Regions from separate parts of the Homo sapiens genome. Here all the other regions are linked to region 1. Evidence: promoter capture Hi-C in 16 types of primary human blood cells and fetal thymus (Javierre and others, 2016). All regions are on one chromosome and are shown on one strand. The core of a region is centred on a gene start or on the middle of the fragment in contact, and the rest is flanking DNA. Distances in the headings are between cores, read along the strand shown.

Region 1 (2,700 bases), core at 11-2,510:
TCCAGACTGGGCGACAGAGCGAAACCATACCTCATTCGTTCATTCATTCATTCATAATTAATAAAATAAGTACAACGCACTTCTACATAATCTAAGCGTATGGAAATCCACGGTATAAACCGGTCCATCCTCCACATGGAAATTAACTTCGGCTATATTATCTCCTCCACCTAAGAGCCAGTGCCTGAAAGCCCCCCCGAATACGCTGATGTAGCTTTTTACTGTATCACTTAGGTGAAAAGATTCTTTCCTTAAATATGAAAAGAAAAACTATGTAGTAATGACACAAAAAGAATATGTTAACTGTAAAGTCAAGATTATGAAATGTTCCCGTGGCTCAGTTTTTTTAGGAGCAATCTGGAGCTGCGAATTTTCCCGTCGCCGCCAGCTGGACCGACAGACAAGGCTGGAAAGGGTTATCAACATACCTGGAGGAAGCTGCAAATTAGCAGGAAACTGGATTGTCGTGGTGTTGGGGGCTTTCACGGCGACTATCTGAGGAGCAGGCAGCCTAGGGCCGCTGCTGACTTTAGGAGGGGCGCTGACCGGAGCCACTTTGGTCACCAGGGTCCCCACGGGGGACCGCAGGGGCTGGGACGCCGTGGGCTCCACGCAGACGCTGACAGGAGCCTTAGTCACGGCGCCCAGGGCCACCGGAGTGCTCTCCACCCGCACCGGCAGCGCCCCGGCCGGGGCCATGGTCACGGTCCCCGAGGCGCTCACAGCAGCCGGGGGAGCGGCGCCGGCGGGTTCGGTGAGGCCGGCGGGCATCCCCCAGGGGCTCAGCGGCAGCTTTGGCGCTGCGGTTCCGGGAGCAGAGGTGAGGGGAGGCTTGGCGCGCGGCAGCCGACTCCGGTGCGGTTCGGGTTCCACAGCATCGCTGGGGAGAGGCGCGGGGGCCGCAGCAGCGAAGTCAGTGACGGGCGCCCGCTGCACGGCAGGACACGCGCGTCCCGGACCTTCCTCTCGTCCGCGCGAGCCTGGGCTGCCCCCGGAGCGACACCCGCCCGACCTCTCGCAGCTTCCTCAGCGGCGCTCACACGTGCGCTGCCTCAGCCCTGCGCCTCAGGCTCGGGTCCCGCTGCGGGGGAGCCTGGACTTGCGGCTCCCGGAAGGTCGTCGCTCACACCTCGAGCCTAACTGCGCAGCTGCTCCCCCGCCAGAAATTTCAAAACTACGAACCCCGAGTGCCCACAGCCCCCTACGCGCGATTGGCACGGCCCCGCCGCGCGGCCACGCCAGCCATGTTTATATAGCCACGCGGAGACCTCGCGCACGCGCCCAGGCCGCCGCCACCGCCCCGGGTTTCCCCGGGATCCGGCCGCGTGATTGGCCAAGGAGCGGAGCCGCGCCCGTGACGTCACTGGGGACGGCTCCAGGGAGCGTTAAAATCTTCCCCAGAATCGCCAGCAAGGAGGGGCGATGCCAGAAACCTATCACGTGGGAGGGGCAAGCTGCACTTGGAAAACTGCGGCATCCGTGTTCCTCTCCTTGTGTCCCCTGTAGTGTGTTCCTCGAAAAGCCAGCACTAGACTATCTCCAGGATTCTATTTTTTAAGGAGAAAATGGGGAGGACTGATTTCCGAGAAGAGTGACTCAATAAGAATTCAATCACGCATTTTCAGTGTTTTTCTCTGCTGTCTTCACACTGAAGCGTTGCTAAAATTCGCAGTTAGAATTGACATTGTAAAAATTAAAATGGCGTATAGTTTTATAGTCTGTGAGATGTGCCTATTTTCATATTTTAGAGTTAAACTGCCTAAAATCTTAAATGGAAAATCGTTTCTTCTTTGGTGCTGCTATAGGTGTCTCTATCACCTCTAAACATTAAAATTGTATGTCTGTCTTCTGAAAAACTTAATGCCTTTTGATATCTATATAATTAGATTCTAGCACTTAGATATTAAGCGTGATCCTAGATATTATCTGGATAAATAAAAGGTGTTGAGTGAATCGATATGAAAAAACTTGCCTGTTTGTAATGCAGTCAGAGAAGATGCCTTAATTTCAAGCTAAAGTCATTATATTGTATGTTTGTAGGAACCAACACTGCACTGAAAGGCGATTTTACAAGTAGGCAGATGCTATGATCTGAATGTTGTGGTGTTTTGTTTTGTTTTGTTTTGTTTTGTTTTGTTTTGGAAACAGGATCTAACTCTGTCACCCAGGCTGGAGTGCAGTGGCACCATTGGCTCATTGCAGCCTCCACCTCCTGGGCTCAAGTGATCATCCTACCCTCCTACCTCAGATTCCCGAGTAGCTGGAACCACAGGGGAGCGGCACTATGCCTAGCAAAAACGGGATCTCGTTATATTGTCCAGGCTGGTCTCCAATTCCTGAGCTCCCGCCTGGGCCTCCCAAAGTGCTAGGATTATACCCCCAACTGAGTGTTAAAATGCTAAAGCTGGAGTTGATAATATTAGAAGGTTGGGCCTTTGAAAGGTGATTAGATCATAAGGGTGGAGCCCTCATGAATGGGATTCCATTCAGGACAAATCATGTTAAAGTGATGAATATGTTAACTTGATTTAATTATTTCACGACACATACAAATGTAACATGATACCTCATAAATACATACAATTATTATTTGTTAGTTAAATACATTAAATAAATAATTTTTTTAAAAAAAGAAACCTCAGAAAGATCCCTCACCCCTTCCAGCAAGTGAGGTTATGGTAAAAAGACTGCTGTCTAGAA
Region 2 (2,700 bases), core at 134-2,633, 91 kb after region 1:
CCTCTTTTACTATTACAGAAACTGAAGCTTAGTGAAGTTAATTGCCTTAAGTGATACATATCTGATTTCTACATTCATGATAATGGAAGCTAATTAATATACAAACATTTATTGAACAAATTTCATGCTACAATGCAAGGAGCAGGGGCTTTAGAACTAGAAAAAAATAATTATAAATATGGGTTCCATCACTCTCCAGCTGGGTACTTTCAGCAAGCTATAAATGCTTCTGAATCACAGTTTCACACATAATAAAAGGGGATTAAACACTGTCCCTAATGTTAGATAATATACACAAAATGCCTGGTTAAAGTATTTCTTAAATGTTAGTTACTGCCTTCCTAGCCCCTCTACTGTATATTGTGCAGTAGAAATAGAAAAATGAATTATACCATCTAGATCCTCAGAGATCTTACTATCCAGTTGGTGTGAGATTATTAAATATACCTGAAATTAAAGAAAATATCAGGTCAAATAGTAAATACTGTACAATATTCTGTGGTACAGATTATAAATTCAGAAAAGACAAAGATCCAAGATGACTGGAGTGGATCAGAGAAGGCTTCATTATAGAGGACAAGTGTGCAGAGATTGTTAAAGGATAAATAAGATGCAGAGCAGCAGAAAGAAAGGTGTTTTCCCCTTTCCTCTCTCCCCTTTCTGTAGGCAGAAACACATATTAGTGAAACCAAGAAGCTGCCTCCTAAATTAAGAGGGTGGATAGGATTATGGAAGACTTTGATGGCTACATTGTGGAGCTGAGATTTGATAAAGTAGGAAATACAGAGCTAATAACAGTTTGGGGTCACAGAAAGGACAAAATGAGGAATGATAATAAATCTTATCGTTTTCATGGGAATATTGTGAAGGATTCATTTCTTTTCCCTAAGAAGAAAGGTATTACTTCTCCAAAATGTTATTTAAACAAATTTGCATTTACAGAAAAGGGAACTGAAGCAAAAAGAAAACAAGCCTCTTGTCTCCTTTCATGCTATAAGATAATCATCAACAAGGAAGTAGAACACAAAGCCTTTAATTGTGGCCCATATAATTTTTATATTACTAAATAGTATCACATCTACATACTGGTCAAAACTGGTCAACCTTGGCTTATTTGTAACTCATAATATCAATTTTCACTTCTAGACAGAATATTTTGTGACATATTTTAATAATCAAGTGCCATTAAAAAACTTTACCCTATGTAAAAGGTCACAGCACCCTCAAGGAAACACAATGAATAACTCCATGCAAACATGCAAATTATAATTTCAGAATTCTGAGACAAAAGTGTCTCATTCTTCCAATGTATCTTTAAAAATGCCCACTATAGGTATTTTTATATCCTTACCCTTTTACCGCTTATTACAAAGGAACCATCAATCAGTTCTACAGCACTCTTAAAACATGTTAAATGAGCCAATGTGGTTTCTTATTACACCCTAGTCTTCTCCTATTACTCCCTTTATTTTAGGCTCTAAAACTTGGCCATTAGTTTCTAACCATATGCTACATGCTATGCTGGGGATTATATAACTTTTTGTTTTTATCAAAATGGTACCCTTTTGGTTTAAGCTACATCAGGCTTTCCTTAAATTTATAATTCTAAAAAAATTACTTGCAAAACAGAAGCAAAACTAGTGGGCCCAATTAAATAGAAAAATACTTTTAAAACGATTCTTCTTCTAGTGTTTTTTTTTTACCACTTACATCTGTTAGATTTATAATGAAAGTGAATTATTTCCTTCTTTAACAAAGAAAGTCAGAAAATATAGACACTGCTAGACTTAGAAACGTACTGTGTATTCTCATAGCTACTGTCTCAATTTCCAAAGTACACAACAAACATGCTCATGAAATTGAGAGAATAAAAATATCCGATCCTTTGAATTCATAGGCTAGGCCTTAGAAGATTTGGGGTAATAGATCTTGTGTCACTAGGGCACTTTTGTCCTCTTTAATTTTTATAAATCACTAAAATTATTGAACGTAGTTAAAACTTGGCAGCAGTATTACTCCTACCCTGAGTATTTTTTAAGTTTTTCAGTAATGTGGATACATAAATCTAAGGTAGGGTGTAATCTCTCAAGGAACTTCCAGCATTATTTTTTAAGTGGCCAAAAAAGTGGAAGTTCTTGGACTTTTGAGCCTCTACAAGGCTGGGAAATATTGGGACAATTTTGGGATTTTTTTTTTTTTTCCCGAGACGGAGTTTCGCTTTTGTTGCCCAGGCTGGAGTGCAATGGCACGATCTCGGCTCACCGCAACCTCTGCCTCCCAGGTTCAAGCGATTCTCCCGCCTCAGCCTCCCGAGTAGCTGGGATTACAGGCATGCGCCACCACGCCTGGCTAATTTTGTATTTTTAGTAGAGACGGAGTTTCTCCATGTTGGTCAGGCTGGTCTCAAACTCCCGACCTCAGGTGATCCGCCCTCCTGGGCCTTCCAAAGTGCTGGGATTACAGGTGTGAGCCACTGCGCCCAGCAATTTTGGGATATTTTTAACGCGTGTGTTTGAACTGTGTTTTTAATCATTTCTTCATCAACAAAAGTTTAATTTTATATTGATTTAGTCCGTATTTGGGGAGCAGGTGTGGCCAACTTTTATTTTTTATTGTAACTGTTATTAAAAAACAGTTCCCAACATGAAGCAACTGTTAACTTTTCCAGGGGTCTCTGAACTACCAAGGAACTGGACCACG
Region 3 (2,792 bases), core at 203-2,702, 98 kb before region 1:
CAACAGCAACCCCAATCTTATGTTCCTTCCTATATACCCAGCTGGCCTAACTGAAGATTTCATGCACCAACAGAGTAGGGCTTTACAATGTTAAGGCCACTGCATATTAAATGGTTTAGCCAAGAAAATGTAATGACCCAGACCAAATGATATCAACACCATCAAATGAATCCCATCTAAAGCAACCCAAATAGCACCTTTCAACTGGAAAACACTGAATGAAGCTTCTTCAGGGCCATAGTCATATAGGCGACTATAACATATCTTCAGTGGGAAAACACCTGGTAGCCAGATCAAAAGCTCTGTACTACATGTCACTTTCTACTTATTTACTTAGATCTCAGTTTATGACTAATGATTAAAGAATTATATCAAACCAGGTGAAAGATTATCAAAAGTAAATGGATGTTCAAGAGTGGAAAGAGATGGGGGGATTTCACTTTTTTAAAAAGAGTAACTCACTTTTATAAAATCTATGGAGTAGAATTTCCTACACTGTACAGATAAAAATAAATCCTATCAGGGATGAACTGAAATATAAGGACAGGGCTAAAGCTGTGACATAAAGATTATTACAAACAAAGTCTACAAAATAATGGTGATTTCAAACTGAATCCAAATATAACCAAATGATAATTATTTTGACTTAAAAGGGCTGATAATCTTTTGTTATTTTATATATACGCAAATGTAGACAGTGGCATTAGCTGTATTAACAAATGAGTGTAGGAAAAGGAAAGCTCGGGAAAATCAGTCAGAATAGGTAGTATACAAGACAGCAGGTTAAGGAAGTGTTAGCTTCAAGCTAACTTAGTGAGGTCTTCTAGGTGGGGGAGATACCATCCATTTTGCCTAGTGCAACTAAATGTTTGGAAATACGCTACTGATATACAACAAAAGAATTCCAGCTGAAAGCTATACACAATAGAGCTTTGAATGCCATTCAATAAATATTACTTTAAAAATTCTATTCCATTGTAAATTATACTTATTATGTTTTATACAGAAACTGCCTACTATAAATCAAGATGTACTCACGTGGCCAGGCATGGTGACTCACACTTGTAATCCCAACACTTTGGGAGGCCGAGGCGGGTGGATTGCTTGAGGCCAGGAGTTTGAGACCAGCCTGGCCAACATGGCGAAACCCTATCTCTACTAAAAAAGGTATTCATGTATCTCTGAAACAACAGTGTGATTAAGGCAGAAGTAGGGAGAATCTAAGTTTGAAAAACTGTAAGATACTTTAAAGAGTTATAGTAAAAAGCCAAAAATATGTCTATAATTTTCCCACATCACAAAATTAAAAGTAAGCTGATAACAATCCAAACTAGATTGTAGATTTAGGATGTTAATTGTAATCTCTATGGTAACTGCTAAGAAGATATCTAAATATATCCAAAACGAAATGAGAAGGGGATCAAAATGGAACAAAACAAAAACAATTAAACATAAGAAGCAGAGGAAGTGAGGAACACAAAACTTATAAGGCATACAGAAAAGAAATAGCAAAATAGAAGTTATTTATCAGTAATTACATTTTAAATGTAAATGGAGTAAGCTCTTCAAAGAGACTAGCAGAATGAATTTTAAAAAATGATCAAATTATATGCTGTCTATACTTTAGTTGAAACCATACCAATACGCTGAAAGTGAAAGGATGGAAAAAGATATTCCATGCAAGTAACAAACAAAAGAAAGTAATATCAGACAGTATAGACTTTAAGTACAAAACCCTTAAAAGAGACAAACAAGGACATTATTATATATTGATAAAAAGGTCAATTCATCAAGAAGATATACACATCAAACCAGACTTCTCAAATATATGAAGCAAACAAACATTGACAGAATTTTGTTTAAAAAACAATTCCACAGCATGGGCAACATAGTGAGCCCCTGTCTCAAAAAAAAAAAAAAAAAAATTAGTTGGGTGTGGTGGCACACGCCTGTTAGTCTTAGCTACTGGAAAGGCTGAGGTGGGAGGGTGGCTTGAGGTGGGAGGGTGCTTGAGTCCAGGAGTTCAAGGTTGCAATGAGCTATGATTGCACCACTGCACTCCAGCCTGGATGACAGAGTGAGACCCTGTCTCTAAAACAAAAAGAAAAATAGAGCTCCACAATAGTTGAAGATTTTAATACTGCACTTTCAATAATGAATAGAACATCCAGATGGATGATCAATAAGGAAACAGAGGACTTAACATTATAAACCAACTATATCTATCAGACATCTATGAAACAAGAGCAGAACACACATTCTTCTCAAGTGCACATGAAACATTTTCCAGGATACAATGTATGTTAAGTCATAAAACAAGCCTCAGTACATTTTAAATGAATGATTCATACAAAGTATCTTCTCTGACCACAACGGAATACAGCTAGAAACCAACAACAAAAGGAAAACTGGAAAATTCCCACATATTTGGAAATTAAACAACATACTCTACAGTCACAAAGAATCAAATAAATCTCAAAAGAAATGAGAAAATATTTAAAGATAAATGAAAACGACAACACAACATACCAAAACTTATGGAATGCAGTGAAAGCAGTACTCAGAGGGAAATGTATAGTAGTAAACGCCTACATTATAAAAGGAAGATCTCAAATAAAAAACCTAACTTTACATCTTATGAAACTAAAAAAAAAGAAGAGCAAACTAAGCCTGAAGCTTAGAAGGAAAATAATATAAAAACTAGAGTGGAGATACACGAAATCAAAAATAGAAAAACAGAAAATTAATAAAACCAAAAGTTGGTTATTTGAAAAGCTCAACAAAATCAACAC

The links. The method cuts DNA at HindIII sites, captures the fragments that hold promoters and counts their contacts. A CHiCAGO score of 5 or more calls a contact.
Region 2: a fragment that was not itself captured here is called in contact with the fragment with the promoter of TAF4B in region 1 in 2 of 17 cell types (activated CD4 T cells and total CD4 T cells); the score reaches 6.2 in activated CD4 T cells.
Region 3: a contact is called between a fragment that was not itself captured here and the fragment with the promoter of TAF4B in region 1, in 1 of 17 cell types (activated CD4 T cells). The highest score is 7.3, in activated CD4 T cells.

What each region holds. Positions count from the first base shown.
Region 1 is chr18:26,225,005-26,227,704 of GRCh38, reverse strand. TAF4B (TATA-box binding protein associated factor 4b) reads right to left here and starts at 1,260. Exons shown (of 15, transcript NM_005640.3): 1 at 429-1,260. The coding sequence starts at 771. RefSeq lists a silencer at 621-780 and enhancers at 1,431-1,530, 1,561-1,630. The HindIII fragment of the contact is 8,704 bases long and covers 1-2,700 here.
Region 2 is chr18:26,134,458-26,137,157 of GRCh38, reverse strand. The region is part of intron 1 of PSMA8 (proteasome 20S subunit alpha 8); the gene reads right to left. Among named protein-coding and RNA genes, the nearest start is that of PSMA8, 1.9 kb to the right of the region's middle. The HindIII fragment of the contact is 2,707 bases long and covers 30-2,700 here.
Region 3 is chr18:26,322,660-26,325,451 of GRCh38, reverse strand. All of the region lies in intron 11 of TAF4B (TATA-box binding protein associated factor 4b), which reads right to left. Among named protein-coding and RNA genes, the nearest start is that of TAF4B, 98 kb to the right of the region's middle. The HindIII fragment of the contact is 2,452 bases long and covers 227-2,678 here.